Linked DNA regions of Homo sapiens: all the other regions are linked to region 1. The links are contacts of gene promoters, found by promoter capture Hi-C in blood cells and fetal thymus (Javierre and others, 2016). All regions are on one chromosome and are shown on one strand. The core of a region is centred on a gene start or on the middle of the fragment in contact, and the rest is flanking DNA. Distances in the headings are between cores, read along the strand shown.

Region 1 (2,998 bases), core at 279-2,778:
GCCACTAGCTCAAGGGCACACAACCCATCAAAGGCAAGGCTTAAACCCAGACCTCTTGACCCCTGGTCTGAAACTCCACTAACATGCCAATGTCACAGGCACCTCAGGATGCTCAAGACACGGCAGCTCGCGCTGATCACCCCGTGGATCCTCAGAGGAGGCTGGGCTGCCAGAGTCTGGGCAAAGTGTATCGTTTTCGTTTCGCCCTCCCCCAACCTTTGCTTCCCCGAGGCGGTCCCGCTGGGTGCCCACTGGTACTCACAGGCTGCCCGAGTACTGGCTGCCCCCAAGGAAGCCATACTTGTCCGTCTTGCGCAGGGCCAGCCCGTTTATCTCTGAATCTGAGCCCATGGAGCTCACATCATCCGCCAAGGACTCCAAGGTCCCAGACATGAGGCTCACGGAGTCCAAGTAACTCAGCGTGTCCGGGGCCTGCCCTCGAGGCCCAGAGATGCCAGGTCCCAGGCTGGACGTGGAGCCCAGGTCTTGAGAGTTTTCAGCAGGCTCCGGAGCTGGGGTCACGGTCACGACAGCTACCGGAGCCTCACAAGTCCCAGAGGGGCCTGTGCCAGGGCCTGAGGGGTCCTCAGGAGCCTGTCCTGCTGATGCTGATGTTGCTGCGGCAGCTCCATGCCCACCTGTCACTTGTCCTGATGCACTCCGTGCAGTCACTCCTGAGGCCACTGTGGTTCCCGGCTTGGGGGCAAGCGGGGGTTTGGCGGTCAGGGCACCAGGAGCCGTTCTGGAAGGGGTCCTGGTAGGGGTCCCGGTGGGGGTCCCTGGTCCTGGGGCGGGTGAGGGTCGAGCCTCCTCTGTCTTCGGCGAGTCTGCCCCTGCGGCCAGAGCCCTCGATGTCTCAACTCCAGCCACTGCCGCGGGCTCTGGGGATTCCGGGCCGGAGGGGAGCTGCGGCTTTGGGGCTTCGGGCGAGGCCTCCAGGGTCAGCACCACCACCGTGCTGCCCGTGACAGCCGGGGCTGGGGCCGGGGCTGGGGCCGGGGCCGGAGCAGAGGTCTCGGCCGACCCCGGGACCCAGGCGGGCCGCGCCTCCCCGGGGGCCACCAGGGTGACGGGGGCCGAAGTGGCCGTAGTCACTGGAGGTCCCGGAGCCACCACCACGACGGGCCCGGCCCGGGAACCCCGGGGCGGCGGCGAGGGGGCCGCGGGGGCGCCATGACGGCGCGGCGGGGCCACCAGGGGCGCCGTGCCCGTCTCCATGGCCGCGGGCCGCCCCTCACATCCCCCCGCCGGGGAGGCCGCAGAAGGCGCCGCCCCTCGGGCCTCCCGGCGAGGCCAGCCGAGAAAGGGGAGAGGGCGAAGGGCGCGGCTCGGCGCGCGCCGGGGGCGGAGCGGCCGCTGGGCGCGCAGAGGCGGGGCAGGGGTCGGGGGGCGCCGCGCGCCGGGGTCTCTCTCGAGCCCTCTCACCCCCTCGCGCGCTCTCGCCACCGCCCCCTCCCTCCTGCTTGGGGGCGAGCCGCCGACCTCGCGCCTGCGCACACGCCGCAGAGCCGGCTCCGCGCCAGCGTCTCGGCGTTCCACGCCTGCGCGCGGACTGGCTCATCGCGCTCCTTTTTTCTCCCGCCTAGTCAGAGGATTTGGACGAATAGTGGGAGAGAGAGAACTGGGCTTCTGCCAATCGTTGGAATCGTGGGCGGGGCTGGAGGCGAAAAAGGGGTGGGTCATCTGGAAAGAGGAAACGGAGAAAGCTAGGGCTGTAAGACCAATCAGAGGACGAGGAAAGGCAGGGGGCGATGGGACGAAAGAAATAACCAATAGAAACGCAGGGGTCTGAACCTCCTGGCCAATGAATATGACTGAAGGGTGAATGACCGCGGAAGGGCGGAGGAGGAGGCAGGGCTGTGCGAGTAAGAGGTGGGGCCTGGAGGCTTCTTAACCAATAGGAATGGTAAAAAGGGAGCCAATGAAAAGGGGAGCAGGTGGAGGTCAAATTGACAGGCAGTGATGTCTATTTAGGCGGTGACAGACAGCATCCGCAGTCAATAGGAAGAGCTGAAGAATTCTTTAGGTCTCCCAAAATGGTCAGTAAGGAATGACAGCTGGGAGGAGGCGGGGCAAGCTAGAGATTAATTCGCCCCGTCAGCCAATGATCGTGTTCTCCCACTTTGGCCACAGGACAGGAAAATAGATAGCTGTCTCAGCCAATGGGAGCATCCAAAGGGCAAAGATGCTGCCAGCAGGCGGTGCCAGCCCAGGGATAGTCGGTGACAACCGGAGACAAGCCTTATGGGAGGGTGACAGCTGGGGACAGCACGGAGAAGGGGCGGGGGCATTAGTGCAGCCCTCAACCAATGAGTGCCGCGCTGCCCCCTCTCGAGTCCTTTCCGGTCCCCTATTCTTCGTTCAGCTCCTGAGCCCCACACTCTGGTGGTCTGTGGGACCCTGAGCCCCACCACAGATCCAGTGCCCTGACCCAGTACTCTCATCCTTTACTCTATAATTCTCCGATCTCGGCCCCCAACTAACCCCAACACTCCAGGCCCAGGTGGCAATAGCCAGAGCCCCCAGATCCTATAAGCAACCCATATCTCTGCTTCACCCATTTCCTGCGGGAATCCCAACCTCCAAGTCCCTCTCCTCAGTTCCCATCTATCTGAGCTCCTCCCCAGAACCCAGGCTCCAGTTCCTCAGACCTTATCCCTCTGAGTACCCCCTCCATTTCTTCTAGTGGGGATCTCAAACCCCAAATCCATGAATCCCTAATACCATGAACTCCCCATATGTGTGTTACTATTCTTTTGGGGATCCAAGGCCCCAGTCCCGTCAACCCCTCTCCCCTCACTGCCACATCCCTCTGTGCTCCTCATGTTCCACTGAGAATCCCGACCTCAATCTCATGAGCGCTCCAGGTTGTCCTTAGATCACAAGCATAAAGACCTGACGTTATGAGCTCCAACCTTCCAACTTCTAAACGCCCTCTTCTTTCTCTGACCCCCATATTCTGATTTCCATATAGCATCCACCATCCTGGAATTCCAGT
Region 2 (2,998 bases), core at 311-2,810, 620 kb before region 1:
GTCAAAATGGACCAATCAGCTCTCTATAAAACAGACCAGTTGGCTCTCTGTAAAATGGGCCAATCAGCAGGATGTGGGTGGGGCCAGATAAGGCAATAAAAGCAGGCTGCCAGAGCCAGCAGTGGCAACTCGGCGTACCCTTCCACATAGGAAGCTTTGTTCTTTTGATCTTTCCAATAAATCTTGCTGCTGCTTATCCTGGGTCTGCACTGCCTTTATGAGCTGTAACATCGTGAAGGTCTGCAGCTTCACGCCAGAGGCCAGCGAGACCACGAACCCACCAGAAGGAAGAAACTCGGAACACGTCCGAACATCAGAAGGAACAAACTCCGGACATGCCGCCTTTAAGAACTGAAACACTCACCGTGAGGGTCCGCAGCTTCATTCTTGAAGTCAGTGAGACCAAGAACCCGCCAATTCTGGACACAAGGAGATCGAGACCATCCTGGCTAACACGGTGAAACCCCATCTCTACTAAAAATACAAAAAATTTATTAGGCGTGTTGGCGGATGCCTGTAGTCCCAGCTAGTCCCAGCTACTCCCAGCTACTTGGGAGGCTGAGGCGGGAGAATGGCATGAACCTGGGAGGCGGAGCTTGCAGTGAGCCGAGATTGCGCCACTGCCCTCAAGCCTGGGCGACAGAGCAAGACTCCATCTCAAAAAAACAAAACAAAAACAAACAAAAAAACCCTCTGTTTCCCGAATGCTCAGGGAGACTGATTTGAGTAATAATAAAACTCCTGGCTGGACACAGTGGCTCACGCCTGTAATTTCAGCAATTTGGGAGGCCAAGGCCGGTGGATCACCTTAGGTTGGGAGTTTGAGACCAGCGTGACCAACATGGAGAAAACACTGTCTCTACTAAAAATACAAAATTAGCCAGGTGTGGTGGCAAGTGCCTGTAATCCCAGCTACTCAGGAGGCTGAGGCAGGAGAATCACTTAAACCCTGGAGGCGGAGGTTGCAGTGAGCCGAGGTGGCACCATTGTACTCCAGCCTGGGCAAAAAGAGCAAAACCGTCAAAAAAAAAAAAAAAAAAAAAAAAAAAACTCCGGTCTCCTGCACAGCTGGCTCTGTGTGAATTACTCTTTATTGCAATTTTGCTGTCTTGATGAATCGGCTATGTGTAGGCAGCGGGCAAGGTGAACCCCTTTGGCAGTTACAGGGGGAAGCTAAGGCTCAGGACACTCGCAGAAACCTGAGGAGGCTAGAATTTTACCAGATTACAAGCCTTAAAATCAAACCTGAAGTTAGTGCCAGCGAACAACACGCTTAAAAATAACTAAGATGTTCTTTCTGGCTGTTCTAGAGGTCAATATAGAAAAATGATAGTAACTTTGATGTTATTTTATGTTATGTATTTCTTTTTTTCTTTTGAGACGGAGTCTGTCTCTGTTGCCCAGGCTGGAGTGCGGTGACGCAATCTTGGCTCACTGCAACCTCCGCCTCCCGGGTTCAAGATATTCTTCTGCTTCAGCCATCCAAGTAGCTGGGATTACAGGTGTGTACCACCGTGCCTGGCAGTTATGTGTGTTTCCCTACAATCAAACAATGATTTATTGTAAAAAAAAAAAAAATCAAAATAAACAAAACCTGAAAACTTGTATGTGCTCTTTTAATCAATCTTTTTAAACAAACTTTTAGAAGAGTTAACATTATTAAAAACTGGAAAGATCAGACATGGTTTTTTCTTACTAAGATATCACTGGCTGTTTTGATTCTTTCATCACGTACAAGTTTAGGCCCTACACAATGGTTCATGCCTGTAATCCCAGCACTTTGGGAGGCCAAGACAGGTGGATCACCTAAGGTCGGGAGTTTGAGGCCAGCCTGACCAACATGGCGAAACCCCGTCTCTACTAAACATACCAAAAAAGGCCGGGTGAGGTGACTCACACCTGTAATTCCAGCACTTTGGGAGGCCAAAGCAGGCGGATCATGAGGTCAGGAGTTCGACACCAACTTGGCCAACATGGTGAAACCCTGTCTCTACTAGAAATACAAAAATTAGCCGGGTTTGGTGGCAGGTGCCTGTAGTCCCAGCTACTTGAGAGGCTGAGGCAGGAGAATCGCTTGAACCCAGGAGGTGGAGGTTGTAGTGGGCCGGGATCATGCCACTGCACTCCAGCCTGGGTGACAGGGCAAGACTCTGTCTGGGGAAAAAAAAAAAAATTAGCTGGGCGTGGTGACACATGCCTGTAATCCCAGCTACTCAGGAGGCTGAGGCAGGAGAATTGCTTGAACCCAGGAGGAAGAGGTTGCAGTAAGCTGTGATCATGCCACTGCACTCCACCCTGGACAACAGAGCGAGACTCTGTCTCAAAAAAAAAAAAAAAAAGTTTAAGGCCAGGCAAGGTGGCTCATGTTTGTAATCCCACAATTTTGGGAGACTGAAGCAGGAGGATTGCTTGAGGGCAAGAGTTTGAGACCAGCCTGGGTAACATAGCAAGACTCCCATTTCTACAAAAAATCAAAAAATTAGCCAGGCATGATGGCATGTGCTTGTAGTCTTAGTTACTTGGGAGGCTGAGAGGGGAGGATCACTTGAGCTCAGGAGTTCAAGGCTGCAGTGAGCTATGGGTGTACCACTACACTCCAGCCTGGGAAACAAAGCAAGACACTGTCTCAACAACAAAAAAAGACCAAGTATATTTAGTCATTCTATAAAATTTAAGAAGCCAGCCAAAAACATTTATGTTCAGCAATTTGTTTCAGTTATTTCTTCTTACTTGGAAATAATACACACATCTAATGAATAATAGTTAATTTAATAGAACATAATAGAAGATTTAAAATTACATGAAAAATTTATTTATAATAAATTATCCATTACATACTTTATTTTTAACAGTTTCCCTAGATTATTTATGAAAACTGAGATATTAGGCAAGGATAGTCATTATTTCAAGTTACTTCCCTGTTAATCATTTTTATAGCCTGTGACAATCAGGTATTCACCTAAGTAAGAAGCTTAAACATATGAGTAATTTCTTGATA
Region 3 (2,998 bases), core at 1-2,500, 540 kb before region 1:
CACCTAGTAAACTTGGTCCCATTTGTGTGACTCAAAGGGACATGTCCAAAGTCCAAAGTGCTGGGGGCAGGGGTGGGGCTTAGGTAGGGCATGTGACATTCCTGAACAGGCCAAGCACTGGGTGAAACTACTCAGGATTCAGAAGCAGGTGGGATGGGTGGGTGGAACATGATAATCATCCCCCTTCTCCTTCCTTTCCACCCTACCCTTGCTCACAACTGCAGGAGCTGAGGATGGGAGAGAACTGGGGACGAGGGGGCCAGAGTGATTTGCAGTGTTAGTAATGCAGCTGGTTCTATGGAAGGCTCAGTTCCATCTGGGATCCCTTTATGAGCAGTGGACTAGGTCTTCACATTCAGCCCAGGATTACTAAAGCATAGGAAAGAGGCAGGGAACATAGACACAGCTCATGTAAACATTCCTTTTGTTTATGGCCGAATCCTAGCCACTGGACTACCTGAGGCATACAGATATTCTTTGGCTATGGGCTGACATTTGAATACAGCTGGGGCCTCAGGATTCTCTGAAATAAAGGGCTGCCTCCCTCTGGAGGAGCCAGGCAGCTCCTCAGAGCAGCTGCCCATTGCGTGCTGGACAAGGCCATGTCACCACCTCCATGGCTCCCCAGTTTCCCAGCTTGCTGTATCTCTCCACCGTAAGAGACTGGGAGCACCTTGATCTGAAGCTCTTTGCAGTGCCGGTGGCAGTGTAGGGGGAAGTAGTTGATGGGAGTGAGGGAAAGGAATTGGCAAGGAACCCTGGGCCTCTGTGGCTCACTGCATCAAGCAGTTCTTGGCAAAGGTAAGGTCAGGATGGGCTGTGTCGTCTTGGGTGGGGTGAAGACAGGGAGCAGTGGGCATGCAGATGCGGACAGGGAAGGGTGCAGTGGCCTGGCTGGAGGAGGTAGGGCCGTATCCCACCCAGAGTCTGTCACCAGATTCATGCCTGCCCCACCCCAGGCTCCCCAGGTTCATCCTGTGTCGTCTCCCCCACCTACCAGTCATCTTCTTGTGAGCCCTGGGCTTAGGAGTCACCATGGCAACTGAAGAGTTCATCATCCGCATCCCCCCATACCACTATATCCATGTGCTGGACCAGAACAGCAACGTGTCCCGTGTGGAGGTCGGGCCAAAGACCTACATCCGGCAGGACAATGAGAGGTGGGTGTGGGGGCTGGGCTGTGGGGGATCCTTGGGGATGTGGGGGCCTGTTTGGCTGGCATGATGGTCCTTATCCTCCTCCCTCTTCCCAAGCAGGAGTGGCCCTCGCTTGGGCGATAGAGAGGTTTCTCTCTCATTTGGTGTCCTCTTTGGTAGTGGAGACCTGGTCCCAGGTCCTCACACCTCTTCTCATCTTCCTGCAGGGTACTGTTTGCCCCCATGCGCATGGTGACCGTCCCCCCACGTCACTACTGCACAGTGGCCAACCCTGTGTCTCGGGATGCCCAGGGCTTGGTGCTGTTTGATGTCACAGGGCAAGTTCGGCTTCGCCACGCTGACCTCGAGATCCGGCTGGCCCAGGACCCCTTCCCCCTGTACCCAGGGGAGGTGCTGGAAAAGGTACCTGGTTTCCTCACTCCCTATGCCCCACCCTACCTGTCCTCCACCTGCCTTGGGCTCTATACTGCTGCCTTCTTCTTCTTTTTTTCTTTTCTTTTTTGAGGCAGAGTTTCACTCTTGTCGCCCAGGCTGGAGTGCAGTGGCATAATCTCGGCTCACTGGAAGCTCCACCTGGGTTCAAGTGATTTTCCTGCCTCAGCTTCCTCAGTAGCTGGGATTACAGGCACCCGCCACCACGCCCGGCTAATTTTTGTATTTTTAGTAGAGACAGGGTTTCACCATGTTGGCCAGTCTGATCTCAAACTCCCGACCCCAGGTGATCCACCTGCCTCGGCCTCCCAAAGTGCTGGGATTACAGGCATGAGCCACTGTTCCCGGCCTGTACCGAGTTCTAAAGGGAAAACAAACCAGGGCAGTGGGAGGGGTGGGGAGAGACACTTGCTGGCTCTCACCAAGGGTGGAATTGACTCACTGTACCTCCACTCACCTCCAGCCACCCCCATCCTCCACACATGCCCCAAACACACCTGCCTCTTTTCTGAGAACTGTTGGCCCATCTCACCTTCCCAGGCTCCAGAGCCTACCAGAAGTGCCCAGCCAGTCTGGCATTAAATGACATGTGCCAAGGTTAAGCAGTTCATTCACCCGGTGCCAGACACTGGTGGGCAGTGCCAAAGCAGCAGTGACAAGCCCAGGCCCCAGGCTGTGCCTGTTCTAGGAGAAGCCATCACAGGCCTGAACCTACAGCCAGGCTCTTGTCCCCGTTGGCCTCAGGCCTGGGCCTGAGCAGGTGGGTGTCCCACCTTCATTCCTTTACCTGTTCTTCCACCTTTACCTTCTGGCCATTTAATGGTTTTGGGTTTTTTGTTTGTTTGTTTGTTTGTTTTTAATAGAGACGGGGTTTCACCGTGTTAGCCAGGATGGTCTTGATCTCCTGACCTCATGATCCGCCCGCCTCGGCCTCCCAAAGTGCTGGGATTACAGGCATGAGCCACCGTGTCCAGCCCCATTTAATGGTTTTCTTACTGACTTTACTAACCAGTGCTGCTTGATCCTGAAAGCATAATAGCAGAACATGGGGAACTTTTAGAGACATTCATGTCCACTTAGGTGCAGACAGTTTGGGGGAAGAAGTGTGTGTGTAGAGAGAAAATGAAGAATGATTAAGACAATAACCCTTAAGGAATCCAAGTGAAAAGTATATAGGGATTCTTGTACCTTTTTTTTTTTTTTTTTTTTTTTGAGATGGAGTCTCACTCTGTTGCCCAGGCTGGAGTACAGTGGCATAATCTCGGCTAACTGGAAGCTCTGCCTCCCAGGTTCACGCAATTCTCCTGCCTCAGCCTCCCGAGTAGCTGGGACTACAGGCGCCCACCACCACACCCGGCTAACTTTTTGTGTTTTTAGTAGAGATGGGGTTTCACCGTGTTAGCCAGGGT

Evidence for each region. Contacts are between HindIII fragments. The CHiCAGO score rates a contact against its expected background, and 5 or more counts as called.
Region 2: a contact is called between a fragment that was not itself captured here and the fragment with the promoter of TBC1D10B in region 1, in 1 of 17 cell types (neutrophils). The highest score is 5.1, in neutrophils.
Region 3: a fragment that was not itself captured here is called in contact with the fragment with the promoter of TBC1D10B in region 1 in 1 of 17 cell types (naive CD8 T cells); the score reaches 5.2 in naive CD8 T cells.

Annotation. Positions count from the first base shown.
Region 1 is chr16:30,368,966-30,371,963 of GRCh38, forward strand. TBC1D10B (TBC1 domain family member 10B) reads right to left here and starts at 1,529. Exons shown (of 9, transcript NM_015527.4): 1 at 263-1,529. The coding sequence starts at 1,218. It also overlaps a transcript of MYL11 not described here. RefSeq lists silencers at 955-1,034, 1,125-1,414. The HindIII fragment of the contact is 4,560 bases long and covers 1-2,998 here.
Region 2 is chr16:29,748,893-29,751,890 of GRCh38, forward strand. It overlaps LOC124903673 (a long non-coding RNA gene), which reads left to right. Exons shown (of 2, transcript XR_007065046.1): 2 at 1-750. Among named protein-coding and RNA genes, the nearest start is that of C16orf54, 4.4 kb to the left of the region's middle. The HindIII fragment of the contact is 2,817 bases long and covers 153-2,969 here.
Region 3 is chr16:29,829,515-29,832,512 of GRCh38, forward strand. MVP (major vault protein) reads left to right here. Exons shown (of 15, transcript NM_005115.5): 2 at 1,001-1,160; 3 at 1,364-1,559. The coding sequence starts at 1,036. Among named protein-coding and RNA genes, the nearest start is that of MVP, 11 kb to the left of the region's middle. The HindIII fragment of the contact is 3,992 bases long and covers 1-2,998 here.